2 separate regions of the Homo sapiens genome follow, and region 1 is linked to region 2. Evidence: promoter capture Hi-C in 16 types of primary human blood cells and fetal thymus (Javierre and others, 2016). All regions are on one chromosome and are shown on one strand. Each heading gives the region's core, a stretch centred on a gene start or on the middle of the fragment in contact. The rest is flanking DNA. Distances are from core to core; before and after follow the strand shown. Region 1 holds the start of CPEB2 (cytoplasmic polyadenylation element binding protein 2). Region 2 holds the start of MED28 (mediator complex subunit 28).

Region 1 (4,772 bases), core at 1,927-4,426, 2.6 Mb after region 2:
CCAGGCCCAGGGCACAGGGCGGATCCCGGGGTGCGCCAGCTAGGAGGGCCGGGTTGAGACGCCGCGCCCGGCCGCCCGCGGCCCCGGCGCTATTCGGCCCCTGCCCCAGTCCCCACTGCTGCGCCGGGACGTTCGAGGGGGCGCCCGGCCAGCCGCGGCTCCCAGCGCGAACTCGTCTCCCACGCCCCCACAGCCCACGGTGGCCACTGCCCTCCCAACCCACCGGGGGCTGGGGTTCCGAGTCCTGTCACGGTTGTCCGCCCTCAGTTCCACTCTCACTTGGGCGAGTGGCCCCCGTCGCGGCTTCTCTCGGGGCTAAGGTCGGGTCCCCGGCTGCCCTGCCCCCGCCTCCGTCCCCCGCCCATGGTCTCCCGGTCCCGCGGCGCGGCCAGGCCGCCGCCCGCCGTACCTGGTGGTGGTTATAGGAGTTCCTCTGCTGCAGGAAGGCGGCGGCCGCCGCCTGGTGCTGCTGCTGGAGCTGCGGGCTGACGGGCGACCTCCGGCTCTGCGGCTGCTGCGGCGCCGCGGGCGGCGGGGGCTGCTGTTGAGGTATATTCATGGCGGGCGGCGGCGGAGGGGGCACAGCGGTAGCCGAGAAGGGGCCGCCGAAGCCGCCGCCGCCGCCGCCGCTCGTCGGAACGCTGAGCCCAGTGCAGCCGTGCGGCGACACGGGCGAGAAGCTAGGGAAGAAGGCCGGGTTCATGGACGACGGCAGCCCGGGGTAGAAGCCGTTCTCTGAGTCGGGGCTGGGCGGCGGCATGGCGCTGAGCGAGCCGCCGCTGCCGCCGCCCGGGGTGGTGGCAGACGAGCCGGGCGGCTGCGGCTGCGGCTGGGGCGGCTGCTGGGGTGGCGGCGGCTGCTGCTGCGGCTGGGTCGGCGGCGGCTGCTGGGGCTGGGGTGGCGGCGACGCGGTCTGCACCGACCAGGGGGTGCCGAAGCCGGGCAGCGGCGGCGGCGACGCGGAGCCGCCTCCCCCTCCGCCTCCTGGGGGCCCCCCGCCCCCGCCGCCGCCGCCGCCGCCCGGGTGTGGAAGGTCCGGGCTCTGCAGGCTGCTGAAGGCGCCCGCGCCAAGCGCACCTCCGGGCAGGAGGTTACTGGGACTGTTGAGCAGAGGGTGGTTGGGGGACTCCATGGAGCCCGGCGCGGGGTTCACCGGCGTCGAGGAGGCCAAGCCCGCATTGGGGGACTCGGCGGCGCTGCCCTCGCCCGCGGCTGGGGTCTTGCGAGGGCTGCCCGCGCCTCCGTGGCGGCGCCGCGGGGCTGCAGGCGGCGAGGGAGGGAGCTGCGGGAGCGGGGGCAGGTCTGCCGGACGCTGCCGCGGGGCGAAGTCCTGCGGCGAGAGGTGCTGCTGATGCAGGAGGCTGAACTGCTGCGGCGGCTGTTGCTGCTGGCGCTGAGCGAGCTGCGCCGGCTGGAGGAGCGGGCCGGCTGGCGGCGGCGGCGGGCTGAACCGACCGGGGCAGTGGAGCGGCGGAGGCGGCGGCGGCGGCTTCGAGTCCGGAGGGTGGGGAAGGTGGGGAGGGCTGAACTCTTTCCTCTTCTGGCTGCTCAGCTGCTGCTGCTGCCGCTTACTGAAGTCCTGCGGGGAGGAGGTGCGGCAGCAGCAGCAGGAGGAGGCGGAGGAGGAGGAGGGGTGGTGCAGACTCGGTTTGAAGTCCTGGGAGGGGAGGAGGTGGGTCACACCCGCGATCGTGCCGCCGCCGGGGTGGTGGTCGGGGAGTTTCTCCGTGGCCGCCGCCCCCGAAAGCGGCCGCGCCGGCTGCTGTGTCAGCCCCAGAAGCAGCTCATCCTGCATGGTCTGCTGATGCGCCAGGAACGGGGAGGAAGAGGAAGCGGCGGCGGCCGGGCTGCCCGCGCCGCCGCCGAGGGGGACGGAGAAGGGGGAGGCGGCCTCTAAGAAGCCGGTGACAGGCAACGGTGGTGGCGACAGTGGGCCGAAGGGCGTGGCGGAGGGCAGCGGGTTGACGGACCCCACGGCGTAAGGACCATACGCCTCGCCGCAGAACAGGGGCCCAGGACTGCTACTTCGGAGCGGGGCGGTCTGCAGCACCCCAAACCCGAAATCCCTCATTTATCAGGCCGCCGGCAGCGGGAGGAGACGCTCCTCGTCCCCTGCCCCACCTAGGAAGCCGCCGGCGCTGGGGTTGCGCGGCCGTGGTGGAAGGAGGGGGAGTCAGTGAGAGAGGGACACCGTGACTGAGCCAGGGGGCACCGACTTCGGCCCCACCACCCCTCGCGGCGATCGCCGCCGCCGCCGCCGTCGCAGTCGCCGTAGCCGCCCTGGCCGCTTAAGAACCCCGGAACGTGCGTCAGCGCCACCTCACAATCGCGCCGCCCCCCGCGGTGCGTCCCGGCACGCGCGGGCGCGAGGCCACCGCGTCCCCGTCGCCCCTCCCCGCCCCTCATTACTATGCAGACGCAGCCGAGGGCGCGCTCGCGCTCCCGGGAGGGCGGGAGCGAGCGGCGTGTCCCGTTGGGTCTCTCCGCTCCCGGGGAAATGGACAGGCCGGTTGGGGTGGGGGTCGGCTGGCAAACAGTGGTCGGGAGCATTGGGCGGGCGCGCGCACGAGGGCAAGCACGCGCGGGAGGGAGGGACGGTTCCTGGGCAACGGCCCCTCCTTGGCGCGGGATCCGCGCAGAGTCTGCCTGGGTCGCACGCGTCTCCGCCCCTCGCGGTGCCTCCTCCTTCCTGTCACCTCGGTTCCGCCCTGGGTGGGGAGAAGCCCTGCTGCACCACTCGGGCTTCCCAGAGCGGGGCTGGCCCGCGGGGGAAACTGAGGCCCGGGACCCCGACCGGCGCCTGCACTGTGCGACCCGCGTAGAAATAGGCGCCCGAGGGGCCCCCAGCGCAACGCGGGAGCCCGGCCCAGCCCGGGGGTCCTGTGGTGAACTAGCGTCTGGGCTCTGCCGGCTTGAAGTCCGCTGAGCGCCTCGCCGCGCACCTCTAGACCCCGAGTCCCCGATCTAGGGCCTCCTTGTAGCCCTAGGTAGCGCCCTCTAAGCTTGTTTCTGTTTTTAGGCGCTGGTAGGAGTGCTGTCACCGACGTCGTAGAGCCGCCGAGGGTGTTTCTGTAGGGTAAACATGAAGCCTCGGCTATATTCCAGGCATTTTCACTTGGGTAAGAAGGAACAAAGTCCCTGGAACAAACACGCTCCGCGTGGTTATTTACACACTCGGATGCGTGGAACGGGTTCCACGGCGAGCTCCCATAGTAACCCCGGGCCAGCTCCGCTTCATAAAAGCCTTTCGTGTGCCATCAGGGCTGCAGCGTGGGACTCCTCCCCACCACATTCATTCCGGCGTCCCCGCCCCTTCCCCCCAGGGAGACTCTAATTTATTCCTAAGCTTTATGAATTTTCAAGGGAGAAATAGTTCTTACATCAGGGAAAAAAGGAGGTTCTGACTCAGCAGCAGACTTGTTGAGACTTGCAAAATGGAAGGGAGAGAGCTTTCCATGGTAGAGCTCTTTAGAAGCATTAGAGGAGGAACTAATCCTGTGTTTCCTTTTGTATAGAAACATTTTACATAAAGTATTTGAAGGTCTAGATAAAGAATAACAGAGTGATCCATACTACATGATGAGGTGAACTTTATGTTTCTGTTTTGTAATTTTAACTGTTTTGCTTGATGCTTAGAGAAATGAAACTATTAAATGAATCCTAGAATATAGACTCAAACCCCCAAAGCAATAGAAGGTGGATTCAGACTTTACTTGATTTTGGTTTACAAGTGAACTAAGATTAAATATTTAATTTTATAAATTAGCATACTCTTACTGATGTAGGCAGAGTGTACATTTTTATAAGTCCTCATTCTCTATTTGAATTCTACTTCTGTTCAGTGTCTCAAATTTATATAAATCGAAATAAACATGGTAGAAAGAGAGCAACATTGCCCCAGGGAACTATACTTCATGTATAATGTTTATCTCTGCTATCCTGTCCAATGAACCAAGTTTTATGTTGCCTTTACAATAAGGAAAAAGTACTTTTTAAAAAACTCAAATGGTTCAGAATTTGGTCAGGTGAATAGAAAATTGGTTCAACTTATTAATCTCAAAATCATTTTTAACAGTCAGGCAAAATGTAGAACTGGAGAAGTATTTTTATTCTAAATTACAATGTCTAGAAAATAACCTGAGCTCAGAATTTAAAATATAAATGGTTATTTTCAGAGTATATATTGACATATTAAATATTCATTTTTTAAAAGGTATTGTGCAGGAAAAAAAACTACTTCTGCAACTAAGGAATGTAAAGTCTTAACAACGGATGATTTTTTTCCAAGTACAGTTGTATTTGATTGGAATCATTTGCAGATCCAACAACAAATCTTGAAATAGGGGGAAAATACAGGTATAAACCTTAGCTCAATTATCCACTAACACCGCAGTTAGTAAAGAGGAGAGAGCACATACTTTTAAAAGCTAACTGGTGCCTTTCTGGGCTAGAGTTTTGAACAAAAACAAGATTTCTTAGTGCTCTGGTACTAGTTTTGTCTTAGAGGATTTAGAGCTCTCTGAAACGGGGAAAAGCCATCAAGTTTGTTATTACATAATAATGTCAAACTTCATATTAAATACACCAAATTCCAAATCCTGCCAGGGCCTCTACTCACTACTTTTGTGAGGGCCCCATTTTTTTAGAGCAGAAAGTTACTTTCTGACATCTTGTAAGCTGGTGATCTTGCCCTTATTGAAAATATTCAAATGAAAAGGTTTCCTAGGGTGGAGAGTGGAGTGGGGTAGGGAGAAGGAGCAGCAAATACTGAG
Region 2 (5,155 bases), core at 1,916-4,415:
CCTCCCAAGTAGCTGGGATTAAGGCGTGTGCCACCAGAGACCACTAATTTTTGTATTTTTAGTTAGAGATGGGGTTTCACCATGTTGCCCAGGATGGTCTCGAACTCGTGACCTCAAGTGATCCAGCCACCTTGGCCTCCCAAAGTGCTGGGATTACAGGCGTGAGCCACCGCATCTGCCTAGAAAGAGAACAGCTTTTTAAAAGCATGGCTAAAACAGAGCCTTTGCCTGGAAAGTAAGTGCTTGTCCTCATTTCCACAAACCCAACGGCTGGCTTTCAGCAAGTAACTTGCCCTCACTGAGCCTCAGTTTCTCTACCTATGAATGGAGGAAATGGAACTAGATGGTCTCCAACGTTCCCTCCAAAATCAAGAGTGCATGAGCTCAATAAATTCCTTCCATCAAAGAGCATGTGCTAAGCAGCTAGAATGAGCAGACAGAGACCTCAAGGAGTGGCACCCCAATAGGAATGAGAAGCAGGTAAGTAGGTGCTGCTATGTGCCACTGGAGGCTGTGAAAATTGAGGTCCACACAGAACACAAGGAAGGAAACAGGAAAAGTTCCAAAGAAAATGTGGCCTTTGAATTGAATCGTGAGACAAGACTAGACAGATCGTGATCACCCAGCAGCAGAGAGGATCCAGCTCGCACCACTCCCACTCCCCTTCACCTGGCTAAGTCAAAATGCTTCTTTGGCTTTCCTGCTCTCTGGGAAGCCTTCTTTGATGTCCACACCTATATGTGCTCCCACAGTACCCCAGGTTTCTTCTATCAGAGCAGTGATCCTACAACAAGGCAACTGCCTGCCGTTTATTACAAGCTTCCTGAAGGCAGGGACTGGTTTTCTCTGTATTCTCTGTATGGATAATCAAGTCCCAGAGGGAGTTCTCTCTCAAGGGCACCTACAGACATATATGTGAATCAGGCAAGGAGTTCTGTGCACAAGCCAACTACACTACAGGCTCCACACTACAGATTCCTTCAATGTCTGACAAATATTCATCTAGCACTTGCTATCTACTACCACTGTATTAGCACTACAGGTTACACAATGTGAGGGGTGGGGGTACAAAACAGGTAGTCTCTGACTTCATGGAGCCGAATTTAATGGTAAGTATTAAAAAGAAGGCCAGGGAAGGGTCCACTGAGGAAGTGATGCAGTGAGCTGAGGAGCGGCCTGGAAGCCCAAAGAGAAAACAAATGGTACACGTGGGAAAGTCTTGTGTGGCTGCAGTAAGGAAACGAGTCTGAAGGAGAGAACGCAACATGCAAAGCCTGGGAGACCACACTAAACATCTTGATCTTATCTCAAGGGCAACAAGCAGCCACTGTACGTTTTTAAGCAGCAGGGTGCTGGGAGTCAACTTTGGCTAAGACTTGTACAGGGCCAGTCTTTCAGCAAGTGCCCATGACTGAGAGCCAGCTCCCCTCAAGCACAATGCTAGATGCTGCTCTAAAGTTCACCAGCCCCTTCCTTTACCACTTAGCACCACCTCAAAGGTGTCTCCTCCTCCTCCTCCTAAACGGTCTGTCCTTTAAATCATTTATTTCTGGCTAGGCGCAGTGGCTCACGCCTGTAATCCCAGCACTTTGGGAGGCCGAGGCGGGTGGATCACGAGGTCAGGAGTTCGAGACCAGCCTGGCCAAGATAGTGAAGCCCTGTCTCTACTAAAAAATAAAAAAAATAGCATGGTGGCAGGTGCCTGTAATCCCAGCAACTCGGGAGGCTGAGGCAGGAAAATCGCTTGAACCCGGGAGGCGGAGGTTGCAGTAAGCCGAAATTGCGCCACTGTACTCCAGCCTGGGCGAGAGAGTGAGACTCCATCTCAAATCATTTATTTCTAAATCTTTGTACATCCGTGTGGTAAAAGCATTTTGTCCATGCAGTCTGAATAATCGCTTGCAAATTATATTCATTTACCACTGTGCTATTAGATACAATACAAAAGTCACAAAGTTGGGATTTTTATTTATTTATATTTTATTTTACTTTTTTGAGACGGAGTCGAGCTCTTGTCACCCACGCTGGAGTGCAATGGCGCGGTCTCCGCTCACTGCAACCTCCGCATCCCAGGTTCAAGCGATTCTCCTGCCTCAGCCTCTCGAGTACCTGGGATTACAGGCGCACGCCACCACGCCTGGCTAATTTTTGTATTTTTAGTAGAGTCAGGGTTTCACCATGTTGGTCAGGCTGGTCTCGAACTCCTGACCTCATGATCCGCCAGCCTCGGCCTCCCAAAGTGCTGGGATTACAGGCGTGAGCCACCGCGCCCGGCAAAACTGGGATTTAAAATGTGGAAAAGTTAACTCCAATTTGAACGTACATTACTTTATTACTACACAGGAATAGCTCATCTTCCACTTTAAAGACTACTGGAAATCACCAGAGCACTTATTTTCACCTCTCTATCTTCCCTCAATATACAGTTCACCTTTCTTGCTACAAGGTAAACTCCTTGGGCAAAACTGAGAGATTGGGTCACCTGTGCCTCCCTCCCTCCCTAACCTCCAGCATTCCTCCTTCCTCAGCTCTTAGTACCAAGCTGCGCCTGGTAACTTAAGTCAATTTCCGCTCTTAAGAGTCCCTTTAGGATCGTTTAAAGGTGAAGCCCAGCGGAAAGGATACAGGATACAGCAGTGAAACTCTCAGCTCCGAAAAGGCTTGAGCCTCTTACTAAACATGCAGGGATGCAAGAAACGGTGCTCGGGGATGAGACTAAGGACCGGCTGGGAATCTGGAAGGGTTCCAAGTTTGGGGTTTAGGCAAACTTCGGGTTCACGTTTCCACAAACGTCGAGTTTACGCGCCCCCGCCAGCAGACCTGAATTGAATACGGGCCACGGGGAAGCCTAAAGCAAGTGACTTACTTTAAGCCTCAGTTTCCCCATTTGTGAATTAGTTGCTCGGATCCCTGGAGGAGATACGCGTACGCGCAGTTCACGTTTCAGAAAAAAGGGAAGGCTAGGGACAAAGACGCCCATGTCTTATATTACCTCGAAAGATGACTCCAACTCGTCCACCAAAGTACTGCTGGAAGGTCTAGGAGCGCCTGGAGCTGCCTGAAGAAGCGAAGCTTGGCCCGGAAGGCCCGGCGGGGCCTGAGGGGGACCGGGTGGCTGCCCAGAAAACATACCCCCTAGTGGAGCCGCCATGTTTGGAATGGCGCAAGAGAGATCCACTGCGCCTGCGCGGAAGCCGGCTCAGAAGCTCACGTGGCTGGTGTAGTAGGCGTGGTCACGTGACAGGACCGAGCGATGGGAGGATTCTGGTGCACCCCGGAAGGAGGATTTTTAATTCTTCTGTTTTCTTGTCTATCGCAAAACAGAGTTTACATGTATTTTCCTTTTTTCTTAGCTTAAGAATTGAAGACTTTGGCCGGATTAGACCTGGTTGTGTGGAGAGGAGAATTAATAACTACAGTGGAGCGAGCCCTCCTGCGAGAGTCAGGATACTACTATGCTAGTCCCGACTCTGCCCCAAATGCCTGGAGAGACTTTGGCTAAGTCACTTTTTCTTTCCGCGGGCTGTTTACCGTTGGTAAAAGGAGAGGGTCACCCACTCACTCCACAAACATTTGTTGAGTCATTGGTTATAGCGGGAACAAGACAGGCAAAGTTCTTCCTGAATTCTGGTCGGAGATGGATAACGGAAACAACTTTGTTGAGGTTCCCAATGTGCCCGGCACTGATGTCTTTAAATATTTATGGTTACATCAAAGAGAAAGTCACTATGCTAATCTTTTTTTTTCTTTCTTTTCTTTTTTCTCAGGGTCTCGTTCTGTCGCCCTGGCCGGAGTGCAGTGTCATGATCAGGGCTCGACCTCCCGGGCTCAAACAATCCCCCTACTTCAGCCACCCAAGTAGCTAGGACCACAGGTGCGTGCAGTCGCGACGGGCTTTTTTTTTTTTTTTTTTTTTTTTTTTTAGTTGAGTCAGGTGTTTTACTGAGCTCAAGTGATTCTACCGCCGCGGCCTCCCAAAGTGTTGGGAATACAGTAATGAGCCAAGGCGCCAGGCTGCTAATTTTTTTTTTTTGAGACAGAGTCTCGCTTTGTCGCCCAGGCTGGAGTGCAGTGGCGCGATCTTGGCTCACTGCAAGCTCCGCCTCCCGGGTTCACGCCATTCTCCTGCCTCAGCATCCCGAGTAGCTGGGACTACAGGCGCCCGCCACCACGCCCAGCTAATTTTTTGTATATTTGGTAGAGATGGGGTTTCACCGTGTTAGCCAGGATGGTCTCGATCTCCTAACCTCGTGATCCGCCCGACTCGGCCTCCCAAAGTGCTGAGATTACAGGCGTGAGCCACCGCGCCCGGCACTAGGCTGCTAATCTTGTAGTAACCTGCTTTTAACATTTGCTTATCTCTCTCTTTTTTTTTGGTGACGGAGTCTCGCTCTGTCGCCCAGGCTGGAATGCAGTGGCGCGATCTCGGCTCACTGAAACCTCCGCCTCCTGGGTTCAAGCAATTCTCCTGCCTCAGCCTTCCGAGTAGCTGGGACTACAGGCGCCCGCCGCTCGGCTAGTTTTTCTGTATTTTAGTAGCGCCGGGGTTTCACCTTGTTGCCCAGGCTGGTCTCGAACTCCTGAGCTCAGACAATCCGCCCGCCTCGGTCTTCCAAAGTGCTAGGATTACAGGCGTGAGCCACCGTGCCCAACCTTCTTATTTATCTCTTTAAAACCAAATAACTTTTTTTCATTATATCTGATTTTACAGTTATTACCCAGCACACTTACTGAGCGCTCCACTTCCCAGGCACTATTTAATGATCTGGAGGTTATAGCAATCATCCCAAATCTCTGGAAGGAGACAGACAAGCACATAAATACATAGCAATATTGTGCAGAGAGAAGAGCTGGGAAGGAAAATGAAACCCAGTAAGGGGATGGCTAGTGAGAGGGGTGTTCTTTGAGATAGGTGATTGGAGGAGGCCTCTCCAAGGAGATCTGGACTGTAGTGACTGGCATGAAAATTTAACTAGGAGTGCTTTCTACACCGAAGGATCCCTGAAGAAGCAGCCTGCCTGGGATGTTTAAGGAACCACAGGAAGCTCATTGCCAGAGGAGTGAGCCAGGGCAGAAATGTTCAGAGAAAAAGCAGGAGCTTCCCTTTGCCAACCAGGCTCGGATCAAGTCATCTTCCCAGCCTCAGTTTCACTTA

Evidence for each region. Contacts are between HindIII fragments. The CHiCAGO score rates a contact against its expected background, and 5 or more counts as called.
Region 1: a fragment that was not itself captured here is called in contact with the fragment with the promoter of MED28 in region 2 in 3 of 17 cell types (naive B cells, total CD8 T cells and fetal thymus); the score reaches 7.9 in naive B cells.

Annotation. Positions count from the first base shown.
Region 1 is chr4:14,999,973-15,004,744 of GRCh38, reverse strand. CPEB2 (cytoplasmic polyadenylation element binding protein 2) reads right to left here and starts at 2,264. Exons shown (of 12, transcript NM_001177382.2): 1 at 410-2,264. The coding sequence starts at 2,071. CPEB2-DT (CPEB2 divergent transcript) reads left to right here and starts at 2,700. Exons shown (of 8, transcript NR_038857.1): 1 at 2,700-2,807; 2 at 3,020-3,119; 3 at 3,516-3,584. RefSeq lists enhancers at 1-384, 3,226-3,275 and silencers at 1-425, 806-1,015, 1,116-1,265, 1,316-1,625, 2,126-2,985. The HindIII fragment of the contact is 344 bases long and covers 3,005-3,348 here.
Region 2 is chr4:17,612,651-17,617,805 of GRCh38, reverse strand. It overlaps MED28 (mediator complex subunit 28), which reads right to left and starts at 3,165. Exons shown (of 4, transcript NM_025205.5): 1 at 2,993-3,165. The coding sequence starts at 3,151. It overlaps MED28-DT (MED28 divergent transcript), which reads left to right and starts at 3,226. Exons shown (of 3, transcript NR_186331.1): 1 at 3,226-3,664; 2 at 3,768-3,874. RefSeq lists enhancers at 3,016-3,125, 3,226-3,515, 2,621-3,820. The HindIII fragment of the contact is 7,436 bases long and covers 3,075-5,155 here.